3 separate regions of the Homo sapiens genome follow, and regions 2 and 3 are each linked to region 1. Evidence: promoter capture Hi-C in 16 types of primary human blood cells and fetal thymus (Javierre and others, 2016). All regions are on one chromosome and are shown on one strand. Each heading gives the region's core, a stretch centred on a gene start or on the middle of the fragment in contact. The rest is flanking DNA. Distances are from core to core; before and after follow the strand shown. Region 1 holds the start of CDC20 (cell division cycle 20). Region 2 overlaps SLC2A1 (solute carrier family 2 member 1). Region 3 has its middle 46 kb from the start of SLC2A1.

Region 1 (2,981 bases), core at 85-2,584:
CCCAGGCTGCTCCATTTGCAAAAGCTGCAGGATGTCACCAGAGCTTGCACTCCACAGGTACACACTGTTGTCCAGTGCCACGGCCAGTACATTCCCAGAACTCCAATCCACAAGGTTCAGGTCTGTCAGAGGTGGAGAGAAGAGCATGAGCTTCCTTGTTTGTGTGGTCCCAGGCCCTCTTTCTCCATGCATGAGGCGAGGATAAGGATGCACTTACAATAGTCATTTCGGATTTCAGGCGCATCCAGGATACGGTCTGGCAGGGAAGGAATGTAACGGCAGGTCTTCCGGCTGGAGCCAGGAGTGGCCTTTTGGCTGTAGAGTACTTTCAGTCTGTTCTGATAACCTGTGGCAACGGAGTGAGTCTAGACGCTGGGAAAATCAACACCTCCCTTGCCCTCAATCTTAGATAGGAAGAGGAGACAGATATCTGTGCTCAGCCCTGGAGATGAACTGACACCTCCCTCCAGGAACCAGGAACTTCGGGTCTTACCCTCTGGCGCATTTTGTGGTTTTCCACTGAGCCGAAGGATCTTGGCTTCCTCTACATCAAAACCGTTCAGGTTCAAAGCCCAGGCTTTCTGATGTTCCTGGCATAAAGGGTAGTGAAGGAGCAAGATGGTATTATCCAAAGAACAGTCAGGTCCCGTGCCTTAAGCCCCTCTGGGACACATACCTTCTTGGTGGGCGTCTGGCTGTTTTCAGGCTGGTTCTCCTTGCTCAGGAGGAAGCTGGCCACCTCCATCTGGGCAGCACTGCGATGGGGGATATAGCGGTCACCGCCAGGTTTGCTAGGAGTGGTCTGAACCTTGGAACTGGATTTGCCTGGGGCGGAGAAAGAGAAGACAGTCTGACCAGGCTCCCCAGGGAGAAAGTATGAAGGCTGCTCTCACTCAGTTCCTTTGGCACCTCACTGACCAGGAGTTCGGCCCGGAGTCCTGCCGGCGCTGTGGGATCGGTTGGCGGCCCGCATGGGTGAGGGGGCCGGGCCTGCGGCTTCCTTGGCTTTGCGCTGCCAGCGCGCAGGGGGTGCATTGGGGATGGGTGCATCCAGCTGAAGCAGCGAGTGCAGGTCACTCTCGAACGCGAACTGTGCCATGGGAGCGCCCGCAGGGGGAGGGGTCCTTGCAGTTGGTGCCTACGGAGCCCTGGAGGAAAGGAGGCGACGGTGCTCAGGGGACAGAAAGGGACCCCTTCGCTCCTGGCCGGCCACAAAATCAGGGCCACCCTCGGCTGCAGCCCCTTCCGGCCTAGCACCCCCTCCCCCTGGCCACGGCCCCACCTCGGCTCAGCCCCACCACCTCTCACCGTGCCCTCCGGAGCAGTTCCGACCGGCTTTAACACGCCTGGCTTACGCCTCTTAAACTCTCCGCTCCGAGCGCCTATTGGCTCCTTCAAAATCCAACCGTCGCAACCGTTGCCCTAGCCCATTGGCCTCTCCGGCGAAGGGGGCGGGCCTTCCGGGGAAAGTCTCAGCTATCACGAGAGTCTAGCGGCGGAGCGCGATTTGAAGGGTACGAGAGGGGCTGGGAGCCGGCGCCAGAGGACTAGTACTGGAAAGCCGGCCGGGACAGGGCGGGGCAGGGCGGGGCCGGGTGGGGCCTGCGCTGCCTCAGCGTCCTGGAGTCGTCTCGGTTCGCCCTTTTGCGTGCCTTCCACCGCCGCGAGCTCGGAATGTCTGGCCCCGGGTGCTTCAGGGTCCGAGAACCTGCAGAAGTTCACACTTAAATCCTACACGAGAGTCGTATTTATGATGCAGAACTCGGTGCAGAACCCGATGGAGTGCCCAAGGCGCTTGAGCCGTTCCTAGAAGGGGAAGGAGAGCCGCGGGCGGCAGCGGGGCAGGGGACGGAATTGGGAAGCTTGGGAGCAGGAAGAAGGCCAGAGCTACTTAGGGTACATTCCACTTTTGCTTGGCGCCGGGTAGGAACCCTGCTAGAAAGGAAGTAACGTGTGTTTGTCTCGTTTGCTGTTGTTTTACAAACAGGGAAAATGAGGTTGAAAAGGGTGAATGAATTCCTTAAGGTCAAGAAAAAGGATCGGTATTCAAACCTGCCTATCTGGAAGATAAGCTTAGACTGCCCTACAGGAGGCACTGTGGCTTATCCCCTTGGGGCTTTAAAGATGTGAGGACCTTAGAGATCCATTAGTCTAACCTGTGCGTGGTGCAGCCTCCCCACCCCGACAACAAATCCATATTTTACAGATGGAGAAACGGAGGCCCAGGGAAGGGATGTGCCCGAGGTCATACAAAGAAGTTTGTGGGAATCCAGGTCTGACTCGCACTCAATCTAGTGCTCTAATAATGACTTGAGTGAATTGTATGAATGTGCTCAGAGGTGGAGCAGCAATCATAAAAGTAATAATGGTACCATTTATGGACCATCTAACTACTGTGTTAAAACAATTTACAGGCCATGCGCGGTGGCTCACGCTTGTAATCCCAGCACTTTGGGAGGCCGAGGCGGGCAGATCACGAAGTCAGAAGATCGAGACCATCCTGGCTAACACGGTGAAACCCCGTCTTTACTAAAAATACAAAAAATTAGCCGGGCTTGGTGGCGGGCGCCTGTAGTTCCAGCTACTCGAGAGGCTGAGGCAGGAGAATGGCGTGAACCCGGGAGGCGGAGCTTGCAGTGAGCCGAGATCGAGCCACTGCACTCCAGCCTGGGCAACAGAGCGATACTCTGTCTGAAAAAAAAAAAAAAAGTTTACATACATTATCGAGTTCAATCCTTAATCCCATAAGGCAGATAGATACCCCATCTTCCCTTTACAGAAAAAAGAAACTGGGTCAGAAAGATTAGAAACTTGCCCAAAGGCATGCAGCCAATAATAAGTAGGGGAGCCCAGGATTCAAACTATCTGACTAATCCCTGCAATCTAAACAATACGCTATACTGTCCCAGAAAGAGGCTGGAAAAATCATTTTCAGTCATTAGCTTAAAGTCCACTCCGATGCTTACAGATAATGTTATTAT
Region 2 (2,500 bases), core at 1-2,500, 430 kb after region 1:
ACATGGAATTGAGTTTGAGCTGTAAGTGGTAGGGGATGAGGGGCATGTGAGTTTGTGACTGGCTAAAGCAGGAATATTTAGATTCTATGAGCACGGGTATGTGTGTGTGATGGTATACGTGCATAAGAAGCCGTTTCTGGGTAACTAGGGCCTGCACTCTGCTATACGTGTGGCTGGGTGGGTCTGGCCAGTCCCATGGCACTGAGAGTGTGGTGAGTGTGCTCAGGCAGAACGGGTGCTGCCTGCCTACCACATCCGTGGGAGCTGGCCAGGGTGGGGGCAGGGCTGGTGGGCAGGGCTGCCCTAGGACGGGCGTTTCCAGTTCCTGGAACTGCTTCCTTGTGTGGAACCTTTCCCCATACCTCCTAGCTGGGCCCTTGGGAGAGGGGAGGAGGCCGTGGGTCCTTCAAGGGGGTGCTCGCAGGCCAGACACAAGGGAGCTAGGCCTGGGGAACAGAAAGCCACAGCGTGAGTCTTTCAAGCACTTCTGAAGGGTGACATGTGTGAGTTTGTCACACCAGGCCCTCAGTGCGGTCAGGGAGTCTGTACTTCCTGGATGGCGGAACCTGTCTGTCAAGCCCTGCTTCCTCCCCAGCAAGGGGTTGGGGGGAGGGCCTGATGGCAGGAGATGGGCCCCTGGGGCTTTGAGACATGGTGAGGAGAAAAGGGGCAAGTGGGAAGACCCTTTTCCTTCTGTATTTCTCTTTTTTTTTTTTTTTTTTTGAGACATAGAGTCTCACTCTGTCACTCAGGCTGAAGTGCAGTGGCACAGTCTTGGCTCACTGCAAACTCCGTGTCCTGGGTTTAAGCAATTCTGCCTTAGCCTCCCGTGTAGCTGGGATTACATGCTTGCGCCACCACGTCCAGCTAATTTTTTTTTTATTTTTAGTAGAGATAGGGTTTCACCATGTTGGTCTGGCTGGTCTCGAACTCCTGATCTCCAGTGATCTGCTTGCCTTGATCTCCCAAAGTGCTGGGATTACAGGCGTGAGCCACCACACCTGGTCTTGTACCTCTCTGTTCTATGCCTGAACTTCCACCACTGATCACTTGCCATCATCCCAGCAAGTCACACTGAGCCTGTGAAACCACAGGGCACTGGAAACCACACGTTAGGGGAAGTGGGAGAGTTGGCGGGGCTCTCAGATGAACTCCAACCCCTTGTTTCTCGCCTGGGGAAAGTGAGGCCCACAAAAATAGAGGGACTTGGCTCAAGAACATGCAGTGAATCTGTGGCAGAGCCAGGCCCTGGCCCTCTCTTAGGGAGGGGTGCAAGGGGAAAGGAAAAGGAAGACTGGGTCCTGGCCCCTGGCTTGCTCACCCAGGCTGCATCTCCCCCTGCAGGTGATCGAGGAGTTCTACAACCAGACATGGGTCCACCGCTATGGGGAGAGCATCCTGCCCACCACGCTCACCACGCTCTGGTCCCTCTCAGTGGCCATCTTTTCTGTTGGGGGCATGATTGGCTCCTTCTCTGTGGGCCTTTTCGTTAACCGCTTTGGCCGGTAAGTAGGAGAGGTCCTGGCACTGCCCTTGGAGGGCCCATGCCCTCCTGCCCAGGGAGTCCCAGATGGGGTGGGAGGTAGGGGAGACTTATCTGCCTGTTCCAGGGTATTACCTCTGACCCAGCCCCTCGGAGCCCAAGGAATGTGGGCACTGGCCTGACCTGTGACCCCGTCCCCAGGCGGAATTCAATGCTGATGATGAACCTGCTGGCCTTCGTGTCCGCCGTGCTCATGGGCTTCTCGAAACTGGGCAAGTCCTTTGAGATGCTGATCCTGGGCCGCTTCATCATCGGTGTGTACTGCGGCCTGACCACAGGCTTCGTGCCCATGTATGTGGGTGAAGTGTCACCCACAGCCCTTCGTGGGGCCCTGGGCACCCTGCACCAGCTGGGCATCGTCGTCGGCATCCTCATCGCCCAGGTAAGCTGGGGCAGGATCTACCTGCCTGGCACGGCCCCTGCCCACAGCTTCAGTGGCTCTCGGATCTGTGCCCAGCAGGGCAGAGTTTCTCTTCCGCCCAGCCCCCACAGCCTTGCAGAGGACAACTATGGTACACAGGTCCAGAGAACACAGCACCATGGCCTCCCAGTTGACAGCAAGATGACTTGACTCTTCTCAGTCCCTTTCTTCTCACTCTAGGCTTCCAACCACAGGGCCCGCCTTCCCCCAACATGCCGCAGGCTGTTATGCACAGTACCCTCTCTCCAGGAGGCTTCCCCTTCCCTGTCCCCAAAACCCTCTTGTGGCAGAGTAGCAGCCCCCATTCTCTGTGCTGGACACATCTGTGGCCTTGTCATTTGTCCTCCCAGCAACACTGTGGGGTAGGTCCTACTTTTCCCATGTGACCGATGAGGAAACTGAGAAACAGGGCTCATGCTAGTGGCAGAGCCTCTAGAACTGGGGCCCTTCCCTGAAGCAGCAGCTGACACAAAGTAGGGAAGGCCACTCTGGCAGGACGGGGTGGGAAAGGGGGTCAGGGCAGAGGCGCTCACGGC
Region 3 (2,901 bases), core at 369-2,868, 450 kb after region 1:
CTTTTGTTTGGTTTTGTTATTGTTGCTCAGCCTTTTAACCTGTTTAGATGGAGTGTTACCTTCTAAGCTCCTTACATGCTGGACCGGAAACCAAATTTCTGTCCTTCGTTTCTGAAGGACAGTTTTCCTGAATACTATTCTTGCTTGGCAGGTTTTCTTTCAGTGCTCTGAATATATCATCCCACTCCCTTCTGTCCTGTAAGGTTTCTGCTGAGAAATCTGCTGATAATTTTATAAGAGCTCCCTTGTGCTTGATGAGTCACTTTACTCTTGCTGCCTTCAGAGTCTCTCTTTGACTTTTGACAGTTTATTATGTGTCTCAGGGATGGCTTCTTTGGATCATATATTGTATCCCATAAGTCCCTTAGGCTTTCTTAACTTTTCTTCATCTTTTCTTTTGTTTCCCCTGACTCAGTAATTTCAAATAACCTGTCTCAAATTTCCTGATTGTTTCTTCTGCTCAATTAGATCTGTTATGATCCCTTCTAGTGAATTGTTCAATTCAGTTATTGTTTTTTTCAACTCCAGAATTTCCATTTGGTCTTTTTCTTAACAGATTCTTTTTTTTCTTTTTAGAGACAGGGTCTCACTCTATTGCCCAGGCTGGTCTCAAACACCTGGGCTCATGTAATCCTCCTGCCTCAGCCTCCCAGAGTGCTGGAATTTCAGGCCTGAGCCACTGCACCCGGCCTCTGCGTCTTTGTTGGTATTCTGGTTTTTATGGGTCACTTCCTGGTTTCATTTGTGTATCTGATTCTCTTGTAGCCCACTGAGCCTCTTTAAGATGATTATTTTGAATTCGTTGTCAGGTAATTCATAGATCTCTGTTTCTTTAGGGTTCCATTTCTGATACATAGTTGGTCCTCTGGACCATGTTTCCCACTATCATCATATGTCTTGTTATTTTTTGCAAGAGTTTGTGGATTTGAAAAAATGACCATGTCTTCCAGTTTTAATGGATTGGCTTCATAAAGGGGAAAACCTTAAACATTCAGCTCAACTAACAGTTTGGGGGAGTGGTCTCTCAAACCTTTTCTGGAGATACGTATTCTTGGGCTTGTGCCTGTGATTTCCCAATTCGAGAGGTTTGCTGGTGTCTTTTCAGAAGCTTGTGGTCTCTTGCTCTCTCTGGTGTCTGTCTACAGTACTGCAAGTTCTCAGGGTCTACAACAAGCTGTTGATGTCTCTTGTTCTCAGCAGTCCCCAGGGGATGTGTATGTATGTATGTATATATATATATGTGTGTGTGTGTGTGTGTGTGTGTATGTGTATATATGTGTATATATATGTGTATATATGTATATATATGTGTATATATGTATATATGTGTATATATGTGTATATATACACATATACATATACACATATATGTATATATATACGTGTGTGTATATATATATATATATATAATTTTTTTTTTAACTTTATCAGCACTCAGTGTCAGGCAAGACAGAAACCGGTCCCTCAGGGAGCCCCCTGAAAAGCCTGAATGTTGGACGCACATTCTACTCTTCTGTTTCACTCTCAAGGTAGAAGCTTCAAGTTGGGCATTTACTCCTGAAAGCACCAAGCTGTACTGGCTTTGGGAAAGGGCTATTGTAGGTTAAATGAAAATGTTTCTTCTTACCCATTTTAATATAGCTGTTCTTGACTTTGAACTTGCCTCAGGCACTAGTTTCTAGAATTCTCATAAAAGCTTTTTGGACCATATATTAAGTCAGTGTCTATGGAGGAACAAGGTCTGAGATGTCCTATTATGCTGTATTACTGATGTTACTCCTCTCAGGAAGATTAGTTTTTGAAAAGAGTACATGCAGAAAGTAAAGATCGGGATTTGGACATCGATTCCCTTAAAGCTAAATATGTTCACATATTCCTTGGAAATTTTTTTGGACATCCACAGGTATGAATACCCAGTTTGAAGATAACCTTTTTGGAGGATTCAAATTAGTATTCTTTTGGCTGCCTTTGGGATTTTGTTTCCTAAGTCTGCCTTGAATGTGCTCTCAAAATACCTACTTCCTATACTGGATCTCTTCCACCCCCAAGCTGGGCACCTGGGTCAGAGGATGTGTCTGGCAGGCTTTGAATGGTATAATGGTTAATTTTATGTGTCAACTTGACTGGGTTAAGGAAGACCCAAATGGCTAGTAAAACATTATTTCTGGGTATGTTTTTAGAGTATTCCCAGAGATTAGCATTTGGGTCAGCGTACTGAGTAAAAATGATTCACCCACCCTAGTGTTAGCAGGTCTTATCCAACTCATTGAGGGCCCATCTGAATGGAATAAAAAGGTAGAGGAGGGGGGAATTCTCTCTCTCTCTCTTTAGCTGGGACATCCATTTCCTTCCTTTGGACATTGGAGCTCCTGATTCTTAGGCCTTCAGACTTCAGGAGTCAGAGCAGCAGCCACCTGGGTCTCAGGCCCCCAGCCTTGGATTGGGAGTTATATCATTGGCTCCCCTGTTTCTCAGGCTTTCAAATTCACACTGAATTTCACTACCATATTTCCTGTTTCTCCAGTGTGCAGGCAGTATATCATGGGACGGACTTCTTGGCCTCTACAATCACTTGAACCAATTCTTATAATATATCTGCCCTTAATATCTGTATAAATATCTTATTGGTTCTGGTTTTTTCGAGAACCCTGACTAATGCAGATTTCGATACTGAGAGTGGTTCTAGAGCAACAGAATTTTAAGGATGAGTTTGCTGAATTGGTTTTGGGGCTTATGGAATTGGCTCTTCAATCATCTTAGATTTCAAGATGCTAAGGACTCTATAGTAGTCTATTGCATGAACTATTTATAAAGATATGCATTAGATGCTCCTAGTTTACCAAATATAAGAAGTAAAAACCTAAGTAACTCTGTATATGATACTTTCAAACGTTTTTGGAA

Evidence for each region. The method cuts DNA at HindIII sites, captures the fragments that hold promoters and counts their contacts. A CHiCAGO score of 5 or more calls a contact.
Region 2: a contact is called between a fragment that was not itself captured here and the fragment with the promoter of CDC20 in region 1, in 1 of 17 cell types (neutrophils). The highest score is 6.7, in neutrophils.
Region 3: a contact is called between a fragment that was not itself captured here and the fragment with the promoter of CDC20 in region 1, in 1 of 17 cell types (total B cells). The highest score is 5.3, in total B cells.

Annotation. Positions count from the first base shown.
Region 1 is chr1:43,357,334-43,360,314 of GRCh38, reverse strand. It overlaps CDC20 (cell division cycle 20), which reads right to left and starts at 1,334. Exons shown (of 11, transcript NM_001255.3): 1 at 1,309-1,334; 2 at 919-1,148; 3 at 677-825; 4 at 494-590; 5 at 218-346; 6 at 1-122. The coding sequence starts at 1,099. It overlaps CDC20-DT (CDC20 divergent transcript), which reads left to right and starts at 1,642. Exons shown (of 4, transcript NR_183650.1): 1 at 1,642-1,765; 2 at 2,207-2,273; 3 at 2,415-2,512. RefSeq lists silencers at 1,146-1,295, 1,486-1,595 and enhancers at 1,038-1,546, 1,886-1,945, 2,057-2,565. The HindIII fragment of the contact is 10,275 bases long and covers 1-1,864 here.
Region 2 is chr1:42,930,051-42,932,550 of GRCh38, reverse strand. It overlaps SLC2A1 (solute carrier family 2 member 1), which reads left to right. Exons shown (of 10, transcript NM_006516.4): 3 at 1,345-1,505; 4 at 1,685-1,925. Among named protein-coding and RNA genes, the nearest start is that of SLC2A1, 28 kb to the left of the region's middle. RefSeq lists an enhancer at 243-412. The HindIII fragment of the contact is 5,614 bases long and covers 1-2,500 here.
Region 3 is chr1:42,911,775-42,914,675 of GRCh38, reverse strand. No RefSeq gene overlaps it. Among named protein-coding and RNA genes, the nearest start is that of SLC2A1, 46 kb to the left of the region's middle. The HindIII fragment of the contact is 160 bases long and covers 1,539-1,698 here.